Regions from separate parts of the Homo sapiens genome. Here all the other regions are linked to region 5. The links are contacts of gene promoters, found by promoter capture Hi-C in blood cells and fetal thymus (Javierre and others, 2016). All regions are on one chromosome and are shown on one strand. The core of a region is centred on a gene start or on the middle of the fragment in contact, and the rest is flanking DNA. Distances in the headings are between cores, read along the strand shown. Region 1 overlaps ZNF253 (zinc finger protein 253). Region 2 has its middle 62 kb from the start of ZNF93. Region 3 overlaps LOC124904665 (a long non-coding RNA gene). Region 4 overlaps ZNF93 (zinc finger protein 93). Region 5 holds the start of LPAR2 (lysophosphatidic acid receptor 2).

Region 1 (2,700 bases), core at 2-2,501, 260 kb after region 5:
AATTAACTTCAGTTGCATGCAAACATTCTTCATTACATCTGCCTTCAACTTTGTTATTGATTTTGCTAATTCTACTTATGTTATATATTCATTAACAGATGTTTATAATAATTCCTCTACTTCCATCTTTTGCATTTTAGAGAATAACTAAAAGTGCTTTCTGTGCCATTATGATAATAAGTAAGGAATTCTATTTTTGTGTATGTGCATATCTTCTCCAGAAAGTTATGTATTTTCATATGATCATGTGTTGTTTTCTTGTATTATGTTATTTTCAGTGGAAGAAACTTCTTTCAGCATCTTTGATAGGTAGGGCATATGCAGTGCCAATATACTTTCTTAGGATTTGGTTATTTTGGAAGGACTCCTTTTTATATGATAGTACAATTTTGCCGATGGTATTATTTTCTGCAAAAATTTTTTTTGATAAATTCACTGGTTATCTTATAAGACTATGCTTATAAATGACACATCATTTTTATCTTGCAGCACCCAAAATTCTTTTCTTATCTGTGATTTTTGAAATTTTGCTTATAGGTGTGTTTGTGATAAATATCTTTTTGTGTATCCTAGTTTGTTCAGCTTCTTCATGTTTACATTATTTTTTCTTTTAAGAAATTTTTAAGTTATTTTTATATTTTTTATATCCATAATTTTTGTTTTTTTCTATTTTAATATTTTTTCTTGTTTATCCTCATTTTTCTGATCTTCAGTAGTCGTCTGTGTTCCTATTTCACTTACTGAATATCATTCAATTTCTTTTATGTAATTAATTAATTTATTTATTTTCTGAGACAGAGTCTCACTCTGTTGCCCAGGCTAGAGTGCAGTGGCATGATCTTGGCTCACTGTAACCTACCCCTCCCAGGTTCAAGTGAGTCTCCTGCCTCAGCCTCCCAGTAGCTGGGATTACAGGTGCATGCTGCCACATTTGGCTGATTTTTGTATTTTTAGTAGAGATAGGCTTTCACTCTGTTGGCCAGGCTGATCTTGAACTCCTGACCTCAAATGATCCACCCACCCCAGCCTCCCAAAGTGCTGGGATTACAGGCATGAGCCACTGTTCCTGTCCTACTTTATTTTTTTTTTGAGACAGGCTTGCTCTGTTGCCCAGCCTGGCCAGCAGTGGTACAGTCACTCACTGCAAGCTTCCCATCTTGGGTTCAAGCAGTTCTCGTGTGTCAGTCTCCTACGTGGCTGGGATTACAGGCACATGCCACCACGCCCAGCTAATTTTTGTATTTTTAGTAGTTACAGGGTTTCACCATGTTGGCCAGGCTGGTCTCAAACTCCTGACCTCATGTGATTTTCCTACCTTGGCTTCCCAATGTGTTAGAATTACAGGAATGAGCTTCCAAGCTTGGCCTGTTCAATTTATTCTGAATTTTAAAAATTACTTTATTCACTTTTTATGGCTGCTTTTGAAAATTTTATAATTTTTTTGATGGGCCATGCTGCCCAAATATTTTGTATACATTGTAATCTTTGAGTGAGATTCAGGCATTAACAAAAAGCTACCTGTGCCAATCTTTATAATATAGTTTTGTCCTTGTGTAGTCTGAAATCAATTGTTTTGGCTAGAGATTCTGGGAATTTCTCAAACATGTTTTTAGGATGTGTCTTGTCTAAAATTTTGTGTTTATTGTTTAGTTAAATCGGCTTATTCATATTTCTTCCTAATAATCAGTAATCACTTGCTACAGCCATTCCTGTTTGGATTACTGCAGTTTCTCTGCTTCTGTAACATTTACCTTTAGACTCAGCAGACTCAAACTGTCATTCTAACATATCACTGTTTCAGCATTTTATGTCATGGGAGACATTAGCCGGTGTCTAAAAAAGTTCATAGATGCCAGAAATAAAGATGTATGTGCCAATATTTTTCTTATTTTTAAAAAAGAAACCAGGAGTTGGCAATTTATATTTGTGTGTGTGTGTGTGTGTGTGTGTGTGTGTGTGTGTGTGTGTGACAGAGTCTCACTCTCTTACCTAGGCTGGAGTGCAGTGGCAAAAATCTTAGCTCACTACAATCTCCGTCTCCACAGTTGAAGCAATTCTCCTGCCTCAGCCTTCAGGTAGCTAGGATTACAGGTACCTGTTACCATGCCTGGCTAATTTTCTGTATTTTTAGTTGAGATGGGGTTTCACCATGTTGGTCAGGCTGGTCTCAGTCTCCTCACCTTAGGTGATCCACCTGCCTTGCCTTACCAAAGTGCTGGGGTTACAGGCATTAGCCATCATGCCTGGCCAACAATTTAATTTTTTTTTTTTTTTTTTTTTTTTTTTGAGATGGCGTCTCACTCTGTTGCCCAGGCTGGAGTGCAGTGGTGCAATCTTGGCTCACTGCAGTCTTTGCCTCCCTGGTTCAAGCAATTCTCTGCCGCAGCCCTCCGAGTAGCTGGGATTAAATGTGCCCGCCACCATGTCTGGCTAATTTTTTGTATTTTTAGTAGAGACAAGGTTTCACCATCTTGGCCAGGCTGGTCTTGAACTCCCGACCTCATGATCCACCCACCTCAGCCTCCCAAAGTGCTGTGATTACAGGCGTGAGCCACCATGCCCAACTGGCAATTTACTTTTAAAAGCACAATGTTATACTGGGCAGCAGGAAGAGCTGTGTTGGGTATAACTAACAGAGCTTTCTTTTTCTTCTATGTGGCTATTTGCATTCTGCTCACCTGGAGCCCTTCACACACTTAA
Region 2 (2,700 bases), core at 115-2,614, 330 kb after region 5:
CCATTATCACTGTTTCACTGTTATCACTGTTTCAACAAGGTTTCACCATGTTGGCCAGGATGGTCTCGATCTCCTGATCTCGTGATCCGCCCACCTCAGCCTCCCAAAGTGCTGGGATTACAGGCGTCAGCCACCATGTGGGGGAAAGAAAGAGAGATCAGACTGTTACTGTGTCTATGTAGAAAAAGGAAGACATAAGAAACTCCATTTTGATCTGTACTAAGAAAAATTCTTCTGTCTTAAGATACTGTTAATCTGTAACCCCAGCCCCAACCCTGTGCCCGCAGAAACATGTGCTGTATTGACTCAAGATTTAATGTATTTAGGGCTGTACAGGATGTGCTTTGTTAAAAATGTCTTTGCAGACAGTATGCTTGGTAAAAGTCATCGCCATTCTCCAGTCTCCCGTACCCAGGGACACAATGCACTGCGGAAAGCCGCAGGGACCTCATGCCCAAGAAAGCCTGGGTATCGTCCAAGGTTTCCCCCCACTGAGACAGCCTGAGATATGGCCTCATGGGAAGGGAAAGACCTGACCATCCCCCAGCCCGACACCCATAAAGGGTCTGTGCTGAGGAGGATTAGTGAAAGAGGAAGGCCTCTTTGCAGTTGAGATAAGAGGAAGGTATCTGTCTCCTGCTCATCGCTGGGAATGGAATGTCTCGGTGTAAAACCTGATCATACATTCTATTTACTGAGATAGGAGAAAATCACCTTATGGCTGGAGGTGAGACATGCTGGCGACAATACTGCTCTTTACGACACTGAGATGTTTGTGTAAAGTCAAACATAAATCTGTCCTACGTGCACATCAAGGCACAGCACCTTTCCTTAAACTTATTTATGACACAAAGTCCTTTGCTCACATGTTTTCCTGCTGACCCTCTCCCCACCATTACCCTGTAGTCGTACCACATCCCCCTCACTGAGATGAAAGAGATAGTGATCAATAAATACTGAGGGAACTTAGAGACCAGTGCCGGGTGCGGGTCCTCCGTATGCTGAGCGCCGGTCCCCTGGGTCCACCTTTCTTCCTCTATACTTTGTCTCTGTGTCTTATTTCTTTTCTCAGTCTCTCATCTCCACCTTGTGAGAAACACCCACAGGTGTGGAGGGGCAGGCCCCCTTCACCACCATGTGCAGCCCTGTTTTCCATGTTGATGCCCATGCATCTCTGCTTTCTCTTGACAGGCTATTTAATCAGCAGGAAGAAAAACAGGCCACAATTTCCACCATAACAGTAAACTTGAATGTGGATGAATAGATTACAATGTGTTCAAGCCTTGCAAAGAGAGGCATTATAGTGTATGGTGGTGTAATTGATAGTGATTACCAGGGAGAGTTAAAGGTCATTTTATACAATAACACTCCAGATTCTTTTGCTATAAAACTAGATGCTGGTTACTCAATTTTTAGTGGTACCCTTGTCAACAATTAACTCCTGAGGAAATCTCTGCCCCAACAGAGTCTACATACAGAACTGGGGGATTCAGATCCCCTGGTACAGGTAGCTTAAATCCTGGAGCCAAAATATGCATACAGCGTCCATCACATCTTGACCCTAAGGCTGGTGACCTTGTAGCTATGAAAGCGGGAAATGAAGGCATAGTACAATTTCCTAAAGATGAAAAATAAATCATGTTCCACTCCATTTTTGTTATTACAGGGAATAACCTATCTACTAATGGTCAGCACCTGTGTCTTTGTGTCTGAAGCCAAGAATAAATTCATCACCTGGGTAGCCACCGCTGCAACTGAAGCCATCCACAGTCAATGTTGGCTATATGTTGAGTTGCCGGAGGCTGCCTGGGATGGGCTATCTTGAAGAATCGTCCCTGACAACATTTCTGAATGGCTATATTGTTACCAGTAGGGCCACAACAACAACAACACTTGCAATCCAACCTGGGCTTCCTTTCACCACACTAAGCAATCTATCTTTGCCAGGTCAGACAAAAGATGAACTCCACCCTCACCTTGCATCAAAAGTCTTGATATCTTGCCCAATAATCCTGGAACAATATACACTGAAAACCTGCTGTGCTGGTGGCTGGATTCCATACAGGCTTCGCTTTTTCTGGAGGCCTTAAATGGCTCCTCTAATGTTTCTTTGGGGTTTCTTCAGACATTTGTCAACACATACTCCAAATCAACAACACTGCCCCCCAATGAACCACAATCTCTTTCCTATTTTAATAACACATTAGTACACTATGATTACAGTAGCTCCATTGCTGTCCCCTGGGGGGCCCTCTGGGTATGCAGATCCTATGGGTTGCAATACTGTCCCTGCATTGGATGGGAAGATGCACTTGAGGGTGGACATTAATTCCATTCACTATCCGGGATAATATTCCCTTCCCCAGTAATCTAGATGCTTACAAACACCACTGGTTACAAATGTGCTGGTCTCCCTGGTGGTGGTACCCTATCACAGTATTCTCCCCTGCCACCAGTACATTCCTCCTTCACCAACACATTAAAATATTTACCTTACATGTAGAAAAAGCTCTTAATGATAGTAGCACTGAACTTGTGTTGTTATCAGATGAATTTGCTCAGCTGCGTACTATTGTGTTGCAAAATCAAATGGCATTAAAAATGCTTACCGCAGCCCAAGGAGGGGTTTGCACGTTACTGCAAACTGAATGTTGTGTGTATATCTCTGGTAATTCTCACAATATGACTCTCCTTGGAAAG
Region 3 (2,700 bases), core at 123-2,622, 310 kb after region 5:
GCAATGGTCCCTGAAGAACACACACATTTTTACCAAGTGGCCAGGTGTGGAATTTTTAATTTGACTTAAGGTGAAATGAGAGAGTAAAGAGAAGTGGTTCTGACTTATAGCACTGACTAAAATTATCCAATAAAATAATTTTCAAAACAGAAATATTATTCTCTAACTATGATAAAAAAAAAAAAGCACCATAAGATCCAGAACAACAGTTCATATATTTTATTTTTCTAGATAATAAAGTATAAAATTAAGGGCATGAACACGAACATGTACATTTTTGAGTGCTATATTTACATCATACGGAATGAGTTGTGAATATTTTTCAGATGGAAAAGACATTCACTTAGGCATTTCTCAAATTTATTATGTACAATAAGCTGAAGACCTTATGCAGGTTTTTTTTTTTTTCCAAGAAGATCTGGAGTAAGTCTGATTTACGTATTTATTTCCTTTTCTTTTTTATTTGAGACGGAGTTTCATGCTTGTTGCCCAGGCTTCTGTGCAGTGGCATCATCTTGGCTCACGGCAGTGTCCCCCTCCTGGGTTCAAGCAATTCTCCTGCCTCAGCCTCCTGAGTAGTTGAGATTACAGGCATGTGCCTCCACGCCCAGCTATTTTTGTATTTTTAGTAGAGACAGGGTATTCTCCATGTTGGTCAGGCTGGTCTCAAACTCCCAACCTCAGGTGATCTGCCTGCCTTGGCCTCCCAAAATGCTGTGATTACAGGCATGAGCCAGGGCTCCCCGCTGATTTTTTGAATTTCTAACAAGCTTACCAGTAATGCTAACGTTTTTGGCCTAATAAGGATATTTTGTCAAAGATCCAGTAAGTGGTAGAGCCTGTGTTTTCCCAGTTTTTCTAGCCTGTAAACAAAGATAAGAGCCTTCATTTTCTAAAGAAAAATATGTAGAAAAAATAAAAGGAGAACTGCCAGATTAAATGTGATCACTTGTGTAGAGCAGCTGCATAAAGATAATTATGAAGAGAAAAATAGTTATCTCTACAGTGAAAAAAATCAATCAGCTATTTCACCAAGTGAATCATTAACCATTAACTGCACTAGGACAAATTTTTATGATGTGCTACTGCACACAGAAGAACACAGCATCACTGTTGAAATATTCCTCCCCAAAACAGTAAACTAGTCTGAATTTAACCATAAACAACAGTTTATGCAAACTTCAAAATACAGGTAACTCCTATGTTCTGTAATTTTTAGTAGGAATTTTAATTAGGCTTCATTTAGCACCCTAGAGAGCAAGTATCTCCTAATAATTTTTTTCAGAACTTTCTGGGTAATAAATGCCATTCCATTTAAATCAGCATTTTCTTAATCCTCTTCTGCATAGAGCTAATGGAACACACAGCTGGAGCCTCAACATTACATGTTCTCCATCTTTACTAAGGGCCACAGTTTTCCCCAATAGAAACCTTGAGTATCCACATCTTTCCATGTTCAACAGCCACAAAGGGAACATTTTTAATATTGCAGGTCATAAATTCTTGCGGAGCATTCTGCATGGCATATAAGAAGCTATGACGTACAGAATGTAGAGAAGTCTGTGGGACATAGGACAGAAACGTTTTCCAGAGACCCTTGACTATCATAAGAATTTTAAGAAGTAGTTAAACCAAACTCCTTAGGGAGGAAAAACACAAGTAGAGAAGTAAAGGTTTGTGAGTACTAAACGCATGGCAGTCCAGGAGGCAGAGTGGACACAGCTCTTCATCTGACACATGTTTACCTGAAGAAAAGCCATTTTTTTCTTTCTCCTCCTCCTCTGGAATTCCTTCTCAGATGAGATTCTCTGGACAAGTTACACCTGCATATGGAGAATATGCCTTTAAAGGTGTCAGTACCACATTTACCTGCTAGTATGACATCAACTGGCAGAAAAAGAAAAATTCACTTACTGCTGTCTTTTAAACAGAATAGATTCAGGAATAATGAGCTGCTCCATGAAGACAAAAATATAAGCTTCTCCTTTCCTGTCCTCAGGTGCCCTCCCCTGCCAGAGACTCCAGCAATTTCTGCTACAGTAATGGAAATATGCACCACACTGACCTGTCCCTACCAAACCCAAACAGAACAGGCCCTGTGACCACCCTTTAGTGCAAAGGTGGAACTTAACTCTCGAAAATGTATTTTGAAGCCTTCATACTTGATTCTGGCCTCACCTTAGAGTCACATGAGGCCCTTCATTAAAACAACATGGATCCTTCCACCCAGAACAATAAACAGAAGCTGTGGGGAGGGCACAAGTATAAATCACTTGGTAATTTTGGTCCCACATTATGTAAGGTGATTCTGCAGGTTTGAAAAGGGTTTATGAAAGAGTGTTTTAAACAAGTCTCCTGTCAATGCTGATGTTGCTCCCCCTTGGCTCATTATTAGCATTAGAGAAAGCAGGCAGAGCACAGGGTCCCTTACACTTAACACCCTTCTCACAACCAAATACTTGTCGTGCAAATAAGGACAACCCATCTCCATCCTAAAGTTTTATATTCTTTGCTGGCTCTTTAAGTTTATAGAGGAAACAGAAGGCAGCAATGTTTGAATAAGTCTGGGTTTAAAAAACAACATGTACACATGTACTACTGCAATGTTTATTAAGCAAGTACTATGTGCTCAAGAGTATGATACAGAGCACTGTGCTGGGCATAACACATTATGTGATTTAATTCTCATAATACCCTGGG
Region 4 (2,700 bases), core at 151-2,650, 280 kb after region 5:
CTGATTCAGAAACTATGGAGCCCAGAAACCCAATCAGAGTAACATGTGTGTGCTGAGTAGACATAGAGACATGAGAATCTCCACTTTCCCCTTCCTCCTCTTGCTAAATGCTCACAAATGTACAGGTAAACACCTGTGGCTACTCCAGTCGTTCAGGCCCTAAACTTGAAGCTCCAAATTTTGAATCCAGGTCTTGAGATTTGGGGGAAAAAAAAACTTACCTAAGAAATGCAAGTCCCTTTGGTTATCAAACTCAGACATTAAAATGAAAGTACTGTTATGTCTTTCTCCCCCCTTTGAACTATGTATTCATCTCTTGAAACTGTTCACTATTGCCACAAGTAATTATAAATTAAACTAATAATGCCACATTAGACACTATATCCCATACCCTAAACCATAATAATATATATGTAATCAATAATCGATGTTATTTCTGTAAATAAATAAAAATTTCTGACAATCAACTTTGTATCAGCCCACTCTCTGTCCCTGTCTTGTTGTCTTTACAAATTGTCTTGTAACTGCTGGTAATCAAAATGCAGATTCCAGGCAACTTGAATCTTTGCTCCCAGGTTATAATCCTTAAGCTTGACCCAAGTAAACTATCTACTTATATTCATGTTCTTTCAGCTTTTTTTTTTTTTTTTCATGTAGACTTACCATTTAGAATGTGCTAGAGTAGTCTCTATGAGGGGATCTCTCCTTTGATTGTATTCCACTTGCTGTAACACCAAAGGATGCAGAGCCAGGTGGATCCTACCTGGAATCTGCAGATAAGGTCTGGCCTCTGCCTGGGATTTACAAGAAAGGACCAGAACTTGGATTGAGAATGTACAGAAAATGAACAAAAGTCATTTTCTGCATTGTGAATGTAAACATAGACATCTTACAGCCCCCATTTGGGAGTGTGGCTCTTTGAGATTTTCACATCTTGTTCATTGACCTGCTACAGTTATGTGAGGGGCTCCAGGAGAAATAGACTCAGATGGCAGAATCTGTAAGTGTAAATAAGCATCTTAGGAGTGAGAGATCGGGGCCACAAAGTATCCAGAGCCATGACCACAATTATATTTAGCTGTAAAATGTAATACTAGAGTAGAGTATTTTTGATCTTTCTCTTACCCAAGAGCTAGCAAATCAGAATGGGTGATCCAGGTTCTGGAGCTCCACCAGGGCAGTTCCATTTTCTATTCAGAGTTAGCCTGAGTCTCTCCAGCCTGGCTTATCATTGGGCCATGAGGCCTGGGTCACTGGGAATCTCTCACAATCACCCAGGTGTCTTTGAGGCATTTGAGGATGTCCAGAGCAGAATTTTGTCAGGCTGACAAGAGTGGTTAATTCTGCTTCTGTCTCAGTGTAAGAGAAATGAGTCATCCTGTGTTTGTTCATTCCCTCATACAAGAGATATCTTTGGTTGGTACCCCGATGACAGCTTCTCCAGTTTCCTGGTACTTGGATAATAAGGAGAAGATCTGGAGACCCAGATAGATAAACTAGCTCCTTCCACTTCATATGGGCATTAAAAAAATACATGAAGCAGTCATAGTTCCTACAATCCAGAAACTTTTAGTCTAGACTAGCTACTGGATAAGTAATTGAAGTGTGCATCATATGGTTGGTATAATAAATAGATGTGTTAAAAATCTTGGGCTTTAGACCACTTTCTTTATATTGTTGTGACTTCTGATGTCTACACCTGAAGGGAGATTTATGAACAAAATAATTGTTATAAATTCTTTTTTTTTTTTGAGATGGTGTTTCACTCTGTCACCTGGTCTGGCTTGCAGTGGCACGATCTCGGCTCACTGTAAACTCTGCCGCCCGGGTTCAGGTGACTTTCCCTTCTCAGCCTCCCGAGTAGCTGGGATTACAGTTGCCTGCCACTGCACCTAGCTAATTTTTGTATTTTTACTAGAGGCGGGGTTTCATCATCTGGATCAGGCTGGTCTTTAACTGCTTGACCTCGTTCTGCACCCGCCTTGGTCTCCCAAAGTCTTGAGATTACAAGCATGACCCACCGCGCTTGGCCGTATATTTTCTATTTCTTTTACCTTGCTAACTGTAGATATTTATTTTCTAATAAAATTACCCTAGAAAACCTTAAGGGATTTGTTTAAGTTGCATACTAGTATATAGTATAAAGTTGTCAGGGCAGTGACTAGAAAAGATAAAAACTACAGAAACTCTGGGATTTAAGTTTCTTTTAGGTAAGCTTAGAAACAAAACAAAACTGGAAGTTTCCTAGTTGCATAGAGAACAGAATTCTACATAGGGTTCTCACCCTGCCCCAGACGTGTTCAGATTCATCCTTTTTGGAGACCTTAGTTAGGTCTGAACCTACCCTGGAGTATTGCCTCACAGAACTCATTAAAGGAGATCAGAGTTTTGGCTGCTGAATCCTGCTGCCTTTCTAGAGCTGGTGCTCACAATTTCCTGAAATTCAAAAGCAGATAAATCGGGAAAAAAAGTATGTTTTGTAAGGTGTTTGTTTTTAAATTTTTTATTAAAACCAGTGCTTGCAGAGACATTGTATTTAGCAACTTGTTTTCTATTCCTGCAGATCCAGTAGTTGCTGCACAAGTCAAAAAAGTAAATATAAACAGAATGAAATTTTCTCTAGACTACATTAAACTCTTCTGTATCTCTTTCATCTGTCTATATTTAGCTTTTATTCTATACAATTTTTTAAAAAATTTG
Region 5 (2,700 bases), core at 103-2,602:
GTGCAGCTGCACGGCCATCACACTGCGGTGCCGCTCCACGGCGATGGCCAGCAGTGTGGCCACCGACGCAGTGAGGCTTGTGTCCAGCAAGCCCTGCCGCAGGAACCAGCCCTCAAGTGAAAGTCGGGCTGTGCGGGGACCAGTGTGGAACATGAGGAAGAGGTAGGCCACGCCCGCGAAGAGGTCAGCCGCGGCCAGATTGCCGAGCAGGTAGTAGATGGGCTGGTGGAAGCGGCGGTTGGAGGCGATGGCTGCTATGACCAGCAGATTGGTCAGCAGCACCAGCACGCTGACGGTCAGCCCCAGTGCCACCACGACCACATCCTTGGGCCGCCAGTGGGAGCTGAGCTCTTTGCCACTGTTGTTATAGAAGAAGCCGATGGTCTCGTTGTAGTAGCACTGGCCCATGATGACCATCTGGGGACACAAGAGATCAGTGCATGTGGCACTTCTTGGAAGGACACAGGGAGGGGCGGCAGCTGCAGAGGAGGGTCAGCGCAGGAAGGACAAGGGTCTCAAATTCAGATACCTCGAAGCAAAGTGGCAGTGGTGAGGACTACGGTGGCCTGGAAAAAGCAAGCTCCATGGGGCTGGGGTGGAGGTGGAGGAGCAGCTGTTTCTTACCTACTAATAAGACCTGTGTGCAAGACATCACCCAAGTCAATAGGTTTTTGAACCAGAAGTGAAACAAAACCCATCTATGGTCGAATCCCAGCCCACCTGCCGCCAATGTGTGACCCGGTTTGGGTTGTGGGGAGAGGAGGGTTAGGGAAAGACAAAGGGGTGTGAGCTGCGGGAAGAGATGAGGGAGGATCACTTTGGTGCCGGAGTCAGTGTAGGGAGCAGAGACCCGGGAGCGTGTGCACACAAGGGTGAGGTCACTTGCTAGAACCCTGCGAGGGGGCGGTGCCGAGGCGTGGAGGTGATCGGAGTGGACAGAGAGGCGGCCCCAGAAGTTAGTCGGCGGGATTTGGGCGCGAGTGCTTCCCAAGCGGGCGGGGCAATAGGCTGTTCCGGGTGGGACGGAGGACACTGGCGGTCTCCGGGACAAAGACAGCGGTTGGGGAAGGGATGGATGGCCGGGCCTCCAGGCGTCTCCAGACTGGGGAAGGGGTAGGGGGTTAAGGGATCAGAGGGCGGCGTCCTGGCCCCGCAGGCACGTGCCGCGCCCTTCCCCCGGGCCCAGGCCCGCACCCGCCCGCCTCCCGTCCGTGCAGGCCTCACCTGGGCCTCCAGTCACGCCGCAGACAAGGCGGGCTCGCGGGGGTTCGGGGCGGGCTCGAGGCCCATGGCCCGGCGACTGCGGCGGGAGCGGTAGAGCGTCCGGGTGCGCCCTGTGCGGGTTGCTGAGAGGGCGCGGGAGGCGGGGTCTCCCCGGCGCCCCGCCCCCACCACCTGGGGGAGCCCTGCCCCGCCCCGCCACCTGGGGGAGCCCCGCCTCCACGGCCGCGTCGGGGGCGGTGTCGCCCGGAACCGCAGCCCCCCTGTTTCCTCCCCGCCTCGCGGCCCCTCAGTCGCCCCTATTTCCGGCGCGGGACCCCCACCCCGGTACCTGCACACCTCATGCGCCCGCAGTTTCGAGCCTGCGGGGCTGAGTCACTCGGCGACCCGAAAATTCCCGCCGTGACCCCGCGCTGCCCGGGCGGAGCTCCAGGTGGTCTTGGGTCCGCGCCCCCGCTCCGGACCCCCAACCCTCCCAGCCCCACCCCGCTCTCTTCTTCGTGTCCAATCGGCCGCCGAGTTACAAGCCACTCCCTGATCCGACTTGGCTCCCACCGCCCGGACCCCCGCCCAGCTTCGGCTTTGCCAGCTCGCAGTATCAGCGAGCCGCGGCCTCCTGTGCGAGGCCCACCTCTGCGGCCCCAGCTGATCATCGGGCGCACGCTAGGGTTTTGCAATCCCGCCCCCGTACCCCTCACCCTGGGACAGCGCTGCCCCCTGCAAAGCCCGGCCCTGCCCTGCCCTGCCCTGTGGCTTCCTCCCTCGGCCTCCCTGCGGCGGCCCCGGGCTCCCACGGTCCGGAGCACACAGCCCCATTGTCCCGGTTATCGGTACTTTGTTATACTGTATTTGATTATGCAGGACCGGATCGGGGACGCAGAGCTCCGGGAGGGCCGGGCTGGCGTGACTCAGCCGGGTGCTGCGACCCAGCTCCAACTGCCTTTACGTAGGTGCTGCAGGGTGTTTGATGATGCAAGAAGGAGGCCTTGAGGCCGGGCGCAGTGGCTCACGCCTGTAATCCCTGCATTTTGGGAGGCCGATGCGGGACGATCACGAGATCAGGAGATCGAGACCATCCTGGCCAACATGCTGAAACCCCGTCTCTACTAAAAATACAAAAAAATTAGCCGGGCATGGTGGCAGGCGCCTGTAGTCCCAGCTACTCGGGAGGCTGAGGCAGGAGAATCGCTTGAACCCGGGAGGTGGAGGTTGCAGTGAGCGGAGATCGTGCCACTGCACTCCAACCTGGAGACAGAGCAAAACTCCGTCTCAAAAAAAAAAAAAAAAAAAAAAAAAAAAGAGGCCTTGATTCCCCTAATCTGTAAAATGGGGGCAAGGAGTGCTACCCATGCTGGCCTCTCCCCTAGCAGAGATGCACCCAAGGGCATATAGGACACAGTTTATTAGAGGCCATCAGACCTCAGGCACCACCAGCATGTGGAGTCTGAGCTGCCCACCTCCTCCAGGAAGGTCACTTCG

Evidence for each region. Contacts are between HindIII fragments. The CHiCAGO score rates a contact against its expected background, and 5 or more counts as called.
Region 1: a fragment that was not itself captured here is called in contact with the fragment with the promoter of LPAR2 in region 5 in 1 of 17 cell types (total CD4 T cells); the score reaches 5.4 in total CD4 T cells.
Region 2: a contact is called between a fragment that was not itself captured here and the fragment with the promoter of LPAR2 in region 5, in 10 of 17 cell types (naive CD4 T cells, total CD4 T cells, M2 macrophages and 7 more). The highest score is 11.4, in naive CD4 T cells.
Region 3: a contact is called between a fragment that was not itself captured here and the fragment with the promoter of LPAR2 in region 5, in 2 of 17 cell types (naive B cells and total B cells). The highest score is 6.6, in naive B cells.
Region 4: a contact is called between a fragment that was not itself captured here and the fragment with the promoter of LPAR2 in region 5, in 2 of 17 cell types (total B cells and total CD4 T cells). The highest score is 6.1, in total B cells.

What each region holds. Positions count from the first base shown.
Region 1 is chr19:19,888,574-19,891,273 of GRCh38, forward strand. All of the region lies in intron 3 of ZNF253 (zinc finger protein 253), which reads left to right. Among named protein-coding and RNA genes, the nearest start is that of ZNF93, 11 kb to the right of the region's middle. The HindIII fragment of the contact is 211 bases long and covers 1,147-1,357 here.
Region 2 is chr19:19,961,453-19,964,152 of GRCh38, forward strand. It overlaps the pseudogene BNIP3P12. Among named protein-coding and RNA genes, the nearest start is that of ZNF93, 62 kb to the left of the region's middle. The HindIII fragment of the contact is 4,095 bases long and covers 1-2,700 here.
Region 3 is chr19:19,937,821-19,940,520 of GRCh38, forward strand. LOC124904665 (a long non-coding RNA gene) reads right to left here. Exons shown (of 3, transcript XR_007067170.1): 1 at 1,915-2,700; 2 at 1,746-1,842; 3 at 698-863. Among named protein-coding and RNA genes, the nearest start is that of ZNF93, 38 kb to the left of the region's middle. The HindIII fragment of the contact is 1,208 bases long and covers 769-1,976 here.
Region 4 is chr19:19,910,017-19,912,716 of GRCh38, forward strand. All of the region lies in intron 1 of ZNF93 (zinc finger protein 93), which reads left to right. Among named protein-coding and RNA genes, the nearest start is that of ZNF93, 10 kb to the left of the region's middle. The HindIII fragment of the contact is 1,625 bases long and covers 589-2,213 here.
Region 5 is chr19:19,626,868-19,629,567 of GRCh38, forward strand. It overlaps LPAR2 (lysophosphatidic acid receptor 2), which reads right to left and starts at 1,353. Exons shown (of 3, transcript NM_001395660.1): 1 at 1,225-1,353; 2 at 1-417. The coding sequence starts at 408. GMIP (GEM interacting protein) reads right to left here. Exons shown (of 21, transcript NM_016573.4): 21 at 2,609-2,700. RefSeq lists silencers at 1,104-1,603, 1,974-2,103 and an enhancer at 1,741-2,663. The HindIII fragment of the contact is 41,803 bases long and covers 1-2,700 here.